2 separate regions of the Homo sapiens genome follow, and region 1 is linked to region 2. Evidence: promoter capture Hi-C in 16 types of primary human blood cells and fetal thymus (Javierre and others, 2016). All regions are on one chromosome and are shown on one strand. Each heading gives the region's core, a stretch centred on a gene start or on the middle of the fragment in contact. The rest is flanking DNA. Distances are from core to core; before and after follow the strand shown. Region 1 holds the start of BST1 (bone marrow stromal cell antigen 1). Region 2 holds the start of CC2D2A (coiled-coil and C2 domain containing 2A).

Region 1 (5,179 bases), core at 194-2,693, 230 kb after region 2:
GGAGTCTCACTCTGTTGCCCAGACTGGAGTGCAGTGGCCCGATCTCGGCTCACTGCGAGCTCTGCCTCCTGGGTTCACGCCGTTTTCCCGCCTCAGCCTCCCGAGTAGCTGGGACAACAGGCGCCCGCCACCGCGCCTGGCTAATCTTTTGTATTTTTAGTAGAGACGGGGTTTCACCGTGTTAGCAAGGATGGTCTCGATCTCTTGACCTCGTGATCCACCCGCCTCGGCCTCCCAAAGTGCTGGGATTACAGGTGTGAGCCACCGCGCCCGGCCAATCCTGGCTCTCTTAAACTGAACATCTCCAGGATTTTGCATCTATCAGGAAGGGATATTGTGACCTCTGACAAGTTACAGTCGGCGGTAGGTATCCATGGAGAATTGGTTCCAGGAACCTCCTGGATACCAAAATCCACAGATGCTCAAGGCCCTTATATTAAATGGTGTAGTATACAGTATTTGCACATCCTCTTCTATAATTCACGTCATCTCCAGATTCCTTGTAATATCAAGTACTATGTAATTGTTACATAAGTAGTTGTTACATTGGATTATTTAGGGAATGATGACAAGGAAAAAAAAGTCCGTACATGTTCCGTACAGATGCAAGCATTCTTTTTTTCCTCAAATGTTTCTCATCCGTGGTTAGCTGAATTTGGATGATGAATCCGCAAATCTGGAGGGCCGAACATGCTTAACTTCCCTGAGTTTATCCATTGCTAAAGCGAGAGAAATTACAAACTTAGCTAGGAAGGGTGTTGCGGAAAGTAATTAATATTATACTTGCAAAGTGCTTGGCACGTTGTTGTGGTTATTATTTCCTGAAAACAAACAAACACCACTTATTGGTTGGTGTGAAAGAGGGCATCTGTCAAAGTTGTCGTCCTTTGGAGCCAGAAAAGTATTTCTTCTGATGATGACTGACCTCTCCTCACCTCTCCTTCAACCTTGCGGCTTCTTTGGGGCTCCCTCCCCGTGGACAGCGGTCAAGATTAGCCTGGGCCACAGTGCACTGGTCCTGTCCTGGGTGATGTTCCAAGCTCACTCTTTTTTAATTTTATTTATTTATTAATTTTTTTTTTAGACAGAGTCTCACTCTGTCGCCCAGGGCTGGAGTGCAGTGGTGCAATCACTGCTCGCTGCAGCCTCGATCCCCTGGGGTCAAGCCTCCTCACATCTCACCTCGCAGGTAGCTGAGACTACAGATGCGCACCACCAGGACCAGCTAAGTTTTGTATTTTTTTGTAGAGAGGAGGTTTCTCACCTGTATGTTACTCAGGTTTGTCTCGAACTCCTATACTCAAGCGATCCGCCCGTCTAGGCCTCTCAAAGTGCTGGGATTACAGGCATGAGCCGCCGCGCCCCGCCCCACGCTCAGTCTTGAAATTGTCTGGAACGGGAAACGGCAAACAGCGAGATATCCGAGCGAGAGTCCCGCCCTGCATCAGTTTGCGGAACCGCCTTGGTAGAAGGAGAGAAGGGGAGTGGAGGAAGCACGGGACTGGAGGGACCAAAGTTCCCCGATGGCGGCCCAGGGGTGCGCGGCATCGCGGCTGCTCCAGCTGCTGCTGCAGCTTCTGCTTCTACTGTTGCTGCTGGCGGCGGGCGGGGCGCGCGCGCGGTGGCGCGGGGAGGGCACCAGCGCACACTTGCGGGACATCTTCCTGGGCCGCTGCGCCGAGTACCGCGCACTGCTGAGTCCCGAGCAGCGGTGAGGCAGTCGGCCGGGTGGAAGGGGAGCCGGAAAGAGGCAACGGTGGGGAGGGCCTGGGGAGGGGAAAACTGGCGCTAAAGTTCGGGGTGAGGGGGCAATGAGAGAGGCCTTGAGGGGAGAGGTGAGTGTGGAGACAGCGATGGTCCTGAACGATGGGGGCGAGTGAGGAGGGGGCTGTGAAGTGTGTCTGCAGGTGAGGGGTGCGCTGTGCGGGGTCTAGAGATGAGTGTGTGTGTGTGCGCGCACACACACACTGTAGAGGTGAGGGGTGTGTGCGTGTGTTCTAGAGGTGAGGGGGGTGTGTGTGTGCGCGCGCTCTAGAGGTGGGAGGTGTGTGTGTGCTCTAGAGGTGGATGTGTGTGTGTGTGCTCTAGAGGTGGGGGTGTGTGTGTGTGTGTGTGCTCTAGAGGTGAGGGGTGTGTGTGTGTGTTCTAAAGGTGAGATGTGTGTGTGTGTTCTAGAGGTAAGGGGTGTGTGTGTTCCAGAGGTGAGGTGTCTGTATGTGTGTTCTAGAGGTGAGGGGTGTGTGCATGTGTGTTCTAGAGGTGAAGGGGGTGTGTGTGCGTGCGCTCTAGAGGTGAGGGGTGTGTGTATTCTAGAGGTGAGGGGTGTGTGTGTTCTAGAAGTGAGGGGTGTGTGTGTTCTGGAGGTGAGATGTGTGTGTGTGTGTTCTAGAGGTGAGGGGTGCGTGCATGTGTTCTAGAGGTGTGTGTGTATCTGTGTTCTAGAGGTGAGGGGTGTGTGTGTGTAGTCTAGAGGTGACAGGTGTGTGTGTGTGGTCTATAGGTGAGGGATGTGTGTGTGGTCTAGAGGTGAGGGATGTGTGTGTGGTCTAGAGGTGAGGGGTGTGTGTGTTCTAGAGGTGAGGGGGTGTATGTGTATTCTAGAGCTGAGGAGAGTGTGTGTTCTAGAGATGAGGTGTGTATGTGTGTTCTAGAGGTGAGGGGTGTGTGTGTGTTCTGGAGTTGAGGGGTGTGTGTTCTAGAGGTGAGATGTGTGTGTTCTAGAGATGATGGGTGTGTGTGTTCTAGAAGTGAGAGGTGTGTGTGTTCTAGAGGTAAGGGATGTGTGTGTGTGTGTGTTCTAGAGGTGAGTTGTGTGTGTGTTCTAGAGGTGAGATGTGTGTGTGTTTGTTCTAGAGGTGAGGGGTGTGTGTGTGTAGTCTAGAGGTGACAGGTGTGTGTGTGTGGTCTATAGGTGAGGGATGTGTGTGTGGTCTAGAGGTGAGGGATGTGTGTGTGGTCTAGAGGTGAGAGGTGTGTGTGAGTGTGAAGGAGGGTGGAGAGGTATCCCTCTAGAAGTGAGGGTGGGGTAGAGGTGAACTGGGTAACAGCCCATTGCCACCCAGCAGATGTTTAGTCTGAATACTCAGAACCCAGAATGTGATCTCAGGTTGGAATTCCTTGAGTCCAGTCCTTCCAGAATTCAAATTTCAGATCCCCTAAATCTGGAGGATTTCTGAAGTTTGGGTCTTTCTTGCCAGTGCTGCATTTCTTACTGATTTTTGTTCCTTCTGTGGCCCCCCTTTTCTTATGTTTGTGATGTCTTTCTTGTGCTGATCATTTTTATTGTCGCACATTTCAGGCAAATAAGAAACAGCAGAGAACCACCTGTGTTACACACCACCCAGTATGAGAAACAAAGTTACAAATGCTATGGGAAATATTTTTTGAAAACTAGCATGGACCTCAAGAGGGGCTTGCACTGGAGGGTGCACCTGCTTTGCCAGAGGTGGAAGCCTTTTGCAGCATTGGGCCTCCCTCCTAACACTACACATCCTGCTGGCTGGCCTGGCCTCACCTGGTCCCCGAGCTCCACACTGGAACTGGACTATGAGACTGGCCCCACCGTTAGGTCTAAATGAAGAGGCACCTGCTGTATAGTTGACTGAATTTGTCACCTCCTGCTCGGTGCCATTTCTGCTTGTCTCCGTGAGCCTGGGGCAAGGCTGTATTCCTTAGCTCTGAGAAATCTGTGCAGTGCCTTCAGAGAGACAATTCCAGTGTCAGATTTCTGAATCTGTCACCTAAGCCATGACAATTCGTTGTCTTTTTTGTAAGCCTACTTCTGCAGTTACTATATGAAAAATCTCTTGTAAAGCTCTTAGACAAATGGGCATACTTCACAACACATTATGATGTGCATGTGTGTGTTCTTCCCAACTTGTACTTTTGCACAGGAACAAGAACTGCACAGCCATCTGGGAAGCCTTTAAAGTGGCGCTGGACAAGGATCCCTGCTCCGTGCTGCCCTCAGACTATGACCTTTTTATTAACTTGTCCAGGCACTCTATTCCCAGAGATAAGGTAACACCACAACCATCTTGGGTAAAACTGTGTTCTCTGTCTCTACAGAAATGGATGGTGCATGGGCCAGGTTGACATTAGCTGTCCCCTGCATCCTGCAATGTCACAGAAACATCAGGCAGCACACATAATGTGTGTGCTGAGCTCTCTGTGGGAAGCTAGCTTTGTTTCTGTATTAGTCCGTTGTCACATTGCTATAAAGAAATGCCTGAGACTGGGTAATTTACAAAGAAAAGAGGTTTAACTGGTTCACAGTTCCACAGGCTGTACAGGAAGAATGGCAACATCTACTTCTGGGAGGCCTCTGGGAGCTTTTACTTCAGCAGAAGGCAAAGTGGGAGCAGGTGTCTTACATGGCACGAGCAGGACCAAGGGCAGAGGGAGGTGCCACAGGCTTGTAAACAACTGGATCTTCTGAGAACTCCCTCAGGAGAACAGCAGCAAAGGGGGAAATCCACCCCCATAATCCAATCACCTCACACCAGGCCCCACCTCCAACATAGGGGATTACAATTTTACAAGAGACACAAATCCAAATCATATCAGTTTCCAATAGTGATTGTAGATCTCCCGCTGGTTGTGGGCAGAAGAAAATTTCCTAAGTTAGCAAGTTAGTGTGAGAATCAACATGAGGACATCAGGACATGGCCATACCTGTCACACTGGGCCTCCACATCTGGCCAGTTCTAAATAACCTTCATCCTAACTGGCCCAATGGCCTGAACCTTGAGTAATTCAGAAAACTCTCAATCTCAGTATCCTCCCGGGAGACCAGTCTCTCCATTTAACGGGTCTTAAGATTATATTTATTTAGTACCAGTTTATTTAAGAAAACCACATATCTATATTCTGTATACACTCTCAGGTCTAATAAAATGAAAATAATGAGAAAATTTCCATAAAACCCTTGCTTAAAACAATACCTCAAGTTTAAGGAATGCTAGACACCATTTTTGTTTCTGTGACATAAACATTGTTAACCTGATTTTTTCCATTGTGTGTTATTTGTAAAGGCAAGTAAATGGAACTGTGAGGTTCAAAGATAGAATAGACTGAAAACATGATTTTTGAGTATATGCTGTCTTTTGAACCTTGCTGCCCTCCTGTCACTAAAAGTGGGGAAGCTGACTTTTTAACCTTCTGTTTCATAGATTCGGTG
Region 2 (5,575 bases), core at 1,324-3,823:
ATTCAGTTTTTCCAGAAAATAATTTTCTACTTTCTCCAGTTTTGTGCAGGTAGAGGTAGGATGGGGGAGCCAATGGCATGTTCTTGATTGTCTAAGTTCTTGAGAAAGGTTCAGAAAGGGCCCTGCAACATCTTCATTTCATATACAGTTTTCAATCCTGAGACACACTCACTTGCTGCAGTACCTGGGAACTTGAGACCAGAGAGTCTCTGGTTTAACTTCCCTAGAAAAGAAACCGCCAGTCTCCTTTGGGCAGCAGCAGATGAGGCAGATGTGGAGGACGGAAATTATGCCTGAGGAATGGGCATTTTTCAGGCTGCCAAGAAAAAGGATCCTGAGGATCAATCCCTTAATATACAGACTTTCAAATCTTCCTGCATTTTTAGCCCCGTATCTCTCCCCACCTTCCTTAGTCTATGGTTGTATTAGTTTCCTGATGCTGTTGTAACAAAGTACCACACACTGAGTGGCTTAAACAGCAGAAATTTTCTAACAATTCAGGAGACTAGAAATTTGAAATCAAGGTGTGGCAGGGTTGATTCTTTGTGAAGCTTCAAGAGACAGTCTGTTCCAGGCCTCTCTCCTGGCTGCTGATAGCCTTGAGTGTTCCCTGGCTTGGAGATGGTGCTCTCCCCATGTCTTCACGTTGCCTTTCTTCTATTTTGTCTGTCTCTGAATCCAAATTTCCCCTTTTGTAAGGACGCAATCATCTTGGATTAGATCTCACTCTAATGACTTCATTTTAATGTGATTACCTCTGTAAATACCCTATCTCCAAATAAGGTCCCATTCTGAGATACTGAGGTTAGGACTTCAGCATCTTTGGGGATGAGAGAGAACACAATTCAGCTATAACACTGCTGCCCCAAATCCTGGCACAGTAAATCAGCTCATTTCCTCATATTCATGCCTACGTGCACACCCCATCATACACAGACACACACACACATACATACACGTACAGAGACACAAACACAAATACATTGACACATACACATGCATGCAGGCTGTGTCAAAAAATGTACTCTGGATTTGTTTTAATTAGGTATGGTAAGACACACAGACACAAACATGATTGGCACAAAAGAAGAAGTTTATACTTAACAGATCCCTAGAAACAAGAAGCATGGTGTCTTGGTTCGTTTTCTGTTGTTGTAACAGAATACACAGACTGGGCAATTTATAATGAACAGAAATTTATTTTTCACAGTTCTGGTGGCTGGGAAGTCCAAGATCAAGGGGCTGGCATCCTGCAAGGGTCTTCTTGCTGCACCATCCTATGGTGCAAGGCAAGAAAACATGAGAGCAAGAAAGAGAAAGAGAGAAAACGAGGCCAAATTCATTCTTTTATAAGGAATCCACTCCTGCAATAATGGCATTAATGCATTTATGAGGGCAGAGCCCTACAGCCTAATTGCCTCTCATTAGGTGCCACCTCCCGACACCATTGTGTTAGGGATTAAGTTTCCAATACATGCTTTTGGGAAGACACATTCAAATCATAGAACATGGCATGCCACACAGGACCACATAGGGAAGAACCAATGTTGGTCAGAAGGCAGAACGGAGACAGCAGAGTACAGCACAGAGCCTTTACTAGGGTTTTCCCAGGAAGGAATAGGTGAAGCAGGGTAGGGTGCTGCATAAATTTAGGAGTGGATAGCTTGAATAATCGTGGTGTTCTCTGGGCTATAGTGGTCTGGTATCTGGACCTGGGGTGACTTAGGACAGGAGGAATATTGGCTTAGTGTGTGAGAGTTTGATAATGGAGATGGTTGTGTGGGCTCTGGATTGGTTGGCTTGTATATCAAAGGAGACTTTGCATATTTCAGGGGAATCATTTGCTATCTCTAGAAATTAGCTAACATAGGAGAATCAGTTTCTCCAGGATCAAGGCTCCAAATGCCAGAGCATCAAGAATACAGAAAATAAGAAGATACAGTCAATACACATACACACAAACATACACACACCATACACACAGACACAAATACACACAAACACATGTGCACATACACACTAGTCTATTGGAGTGTGTTTCCTTGGCTCCATTCATTCTATTACTCTTCCAGCTACTTTGCCTCCTACCTCTCCCTCTTTTTTTTTTTCCAACTTTTTTGAGCCATAACATTTATATCCGTTTTCAGGAATTGCAGTGGGATTCAGAGAATAGGCAAAGATTAAACTTGTGCGTTCAACCTTCCACTTTTAACTGGAAAACACTCAAGTGCAACATTTGTTGGTACTCTGCAGCACCTCCACAGAGCTTTTGCTGCTGCCACGTTAGACAGCTTCACCATGTAATGACGACCTTTTAAGATTCTAAATCCCCCCACCTCTGAGCCTGTTCTTCATTGGAAATGCAAGACGACCGGATGACATGAGGGAGGGGCAGCTCTTAAGGCTTGACCTAATTTCCAGTGCTGCTCATGTTGATTTCTCTCCGTCCTTCTACTGCAGGCTGTGCGTCTCTGCTTACCCAGCATGCTTGTACTCCACTACTGGAAGTAGCCTGTCACTTTAAAGGAAAAAAAAAAAAGCTACCGAGTGACCTTCCTTAGGAACGGGTTGCTAAGCTGGTGTTTTTGCTCCAAGACATGGCTGCAGCTTCCCAGGGAGGAGCCCAGGGGCATCTCCAACACTCAGCCTTTCCCTCCGGACCCTTTTAAAAGATTCAACAGCACCGTCTCTCTCCACTTCCATCCTAGAATGCAGAATCTGCAAAGTGCCTTTTGTAAAGTTTCTTAAGGTAAATCAGTCCCTAACCGGACTTTAGGCTGCAACAGTGATTTCCTGTTTTCAGTTACCCGGCTTGAAGTTCAGCCTCTCCAGGATACCGTGAGACTGGATTTAATGAATTGTAAATTTAGGGGCTCTCATCGTTATTTATGTTTTTACTTTCTGAAATGGGAACATAGACCATTACTTGGCAGCTTTGATTTGAGCTGCTATCTGGTATCTGGTTTGCAGGAAATGTAAGTCCAGTTCATCACAAGTCCTGAGTGAAAATGCTCTCTGACCAAAGCTCTGTGAAACATTAGCTGCGTGTTGCATTTATGGGCCTTTTAGTTCAAACTGGCTTAAGGGGAGAAGCACTAATTACTGCAAAATACACTTTTCTTGGTATGAGACAGAGAAAGGGCTACTAACCACAGTGCTAAGAGTTGCTGTGCTTTCCAAAGACTTCAAGAAAATGTACTGGCTACAACTTAAGCTGATTGTTTGTTTCCCTTCATTGCAAAGAGGTGGTATGAAAAGCTAATAAAGTCAAATAAGAAATATGTTTGCTACTGCATTTTCATATAACCTTTTCTGCAAATAAATTCAGCACCAGCATGAAATCTCTCTCTCTCTCTCTCTCTCTCTCTCTCTCTCTCTCTCTATATATATATATATATATATATATATATATATATATATATATATCCTAGAGCTCACTTATAGAGTCATTCATTCAAACATTTATGGAGCATCAACAATGCACCAGGCAATGAATTTAAGTTTAGAGTGTGCAAACATAAATTAGACTAGGTCAGAAGCTCAGAATTTGCTGGGAAAACAGACCTATAAACACATGATAAGAGTACAATGAGCTAAGTGCCATAAGAGATTTATAAAAACACTGAGAGGACAGTGGGATGACATCCAGGGAGGGGCTTCCAGTACTTAGCACATCATGTAAATGCACTGGTCATATATCACGTAACACAGCTCAAATATGGTACTCATGTGTACTCTTCAAGGCCAGTGTACATTATATCGAGCTGATTAAATGATTCTATAAAGCTATTGGTCACTAACCTTATGCTAAGGGAAACTGCAGCTGGAATAACTTGTAGAATAAGATAATGTATTCCAAAACAATGTATGTGGCACCTCCCCAGGTGTCCAAGCTCCAGGAGGGAACAGAAAAATGTTCTCAGGGTGTGAGGAAGAAAATACTCATGGGTAGAAGTGCAGGAGGTTTCAGAAGCACCATAAATGGAAACAGCAAGGCAACTGCCCTGGGCCTGGCTGAAGGGAGGGAGACATGAAACATGAGTTATGGTAGCTGGGGGTTGAAGATTGGAGCTGAAGGTGGGTGGGCTTGAACATCACCTAAGGTCTTTCTCATGACTCCTCTTCTATCCCCCAAGCTCTTTTCCCTCCTCATTCCTTTTTTCCACTTTCCCTCCCCACAATCACTTTTTCTTAGTAACAAAACCTACCAATATTGAGAGCCCAGCCTGTGCTAGGCATTTTACTACACACATTTCATCATTTAGCCCTTATAAATTAATCATCCTTCAAGGTAGGAAGTATGATTGCAATGTTGCAGACAAAAAAAAAAAAAACGTGTCTCAGAGAAGGGAGGGCATTGTTCCAAGATCACACAGCTAATAAATAAAGCTGAAGTTGGAACTCAGGTCCACATATTCCTTGGCAAAGAAATATGTGGACCACTCTTCCTATAAACCCATGTTTTTGCCATCCTGGAGTAGGGCATATATATTGTATGATTTTTTAAGCAACCAATATGGAGTTGAGATGCGTTGTATCTCAACCTCCAGGTATGGCTCTGACCCACTGATGACTCTTAGGAATAGTCCATTTATTCAGATGAAGGTGTCAGTACTTTCCTTGAAAAAATATATCTGGTTTTCTGCACTGAGTAAAATAAATCATTGGCTTAATGTAGCCTAAGCCTTTTCTCACCAGTGCAATGCTTCACAGCTTTCAACTGTAAATATTTCCAGAATAGCCCACTATTCTGGAAAGCACAGAATAATTATTGATGCCATTGCAAAAGCAAGAATAAATGGTGAGATGGAGGGGTAGAGTGGAGTGAGGGAGGACTCAGGAATCACAGAGTCTTGGGATCAAGTTCTGAATGTGACATTTAATAATTATAACTTTGGAAAAATCATGTAAATTGTCAGAGCCTCAGTTTACTCATACGCAAATTGGGGCACATACTACTAAGCCAGACATGTTATTGTGAGGACTAAAGAGAACATGTCTATAGTTAGCACAAAATAAGTGTGCAGTAAATCATAGCTATTTTGATGTTGCCAGTAGGAATATATTAACAAGTACCAGTGCATAAGATGATGGCAAACTGCATATTAAAACCAGGCAGTATTGATTTATCTTTTCTTAGCAACAGTGTTCATATAAAAAATAAATTTCGGTGTCATTTGATTTCCTTAGAAACTCATTTAAAGGAAATGATCAGGAAAGAATGAGGAAAAAAGAAAATCCCATTACATTTTTCATTTTCTACTTCTATTTTTTTCTTCCATATAAAGCATTTATTAACTTATAGAGAACTTTTTTTAGTTACTAAAATGTTTCACAGGTTTTTTTTTTTTTTCAGTTTGCAATGACCAGAGTTGTTCATTAGAGAGCTCTCATGTACTTTTGCATTTCATCTTTATTATCTGCCCCCTCATTCACTCTAGGTTATCTCCTTGCCTCTCTATTTTCTTAGCTGCTTTTACATTTTCCTTCCTCTATTTTTTGTACCCTGTGATGAGGTTTGTAGAGAAGACAATAGAATTTCAGATGCTTTATTTCCCTTTAACATGCTAATTCC

What was found. Contacts are between HindIII fragments. The CHiCAGO score rates a contact against its expected background, and 5 or more counts as called.
Region 1: a contact is called between the fragment with the promoter of BST1 here and the fragment with the promoter of CC2D2A in region 2, in 14 of 17 cell types (naive CD8 T cells, non-activated CD4 T cells, M1 macrophages and 11 more). The highest score is 10.9, in naive CD8 T cells.

Annotation. Positions count from the first base shown.
Region 1 is chr4:15,701,622-15,706,800 of GRCh38, forward strand. BST1 (bone marrow stromal cell antigen 1) reads left to right here and starts at 1,444. Exons shown (of 9, transcript NM_004334.3): 1 at 1,444-1,711; 2 at 3,894-4,020. The coding sequence starts at 1,524. RefSeq lists a silencer at 1,383-1,462. The HindIII fragment of the contact is 13,056 bases long and covers 1-5,179 here.
Region 2 is chr4:15,467,309-15,472,883 of GRCh38, forward strand. CC2D2A (coiled-coil and C2 domain containing 2A) reads left to right here and starts at 2,574. Exons shown (of 37, transcript NM_001378615.1): 1 at 2,574-2,749. The HindIII fragment of the contact is 6,808 bases long and covers 550-5,575 here.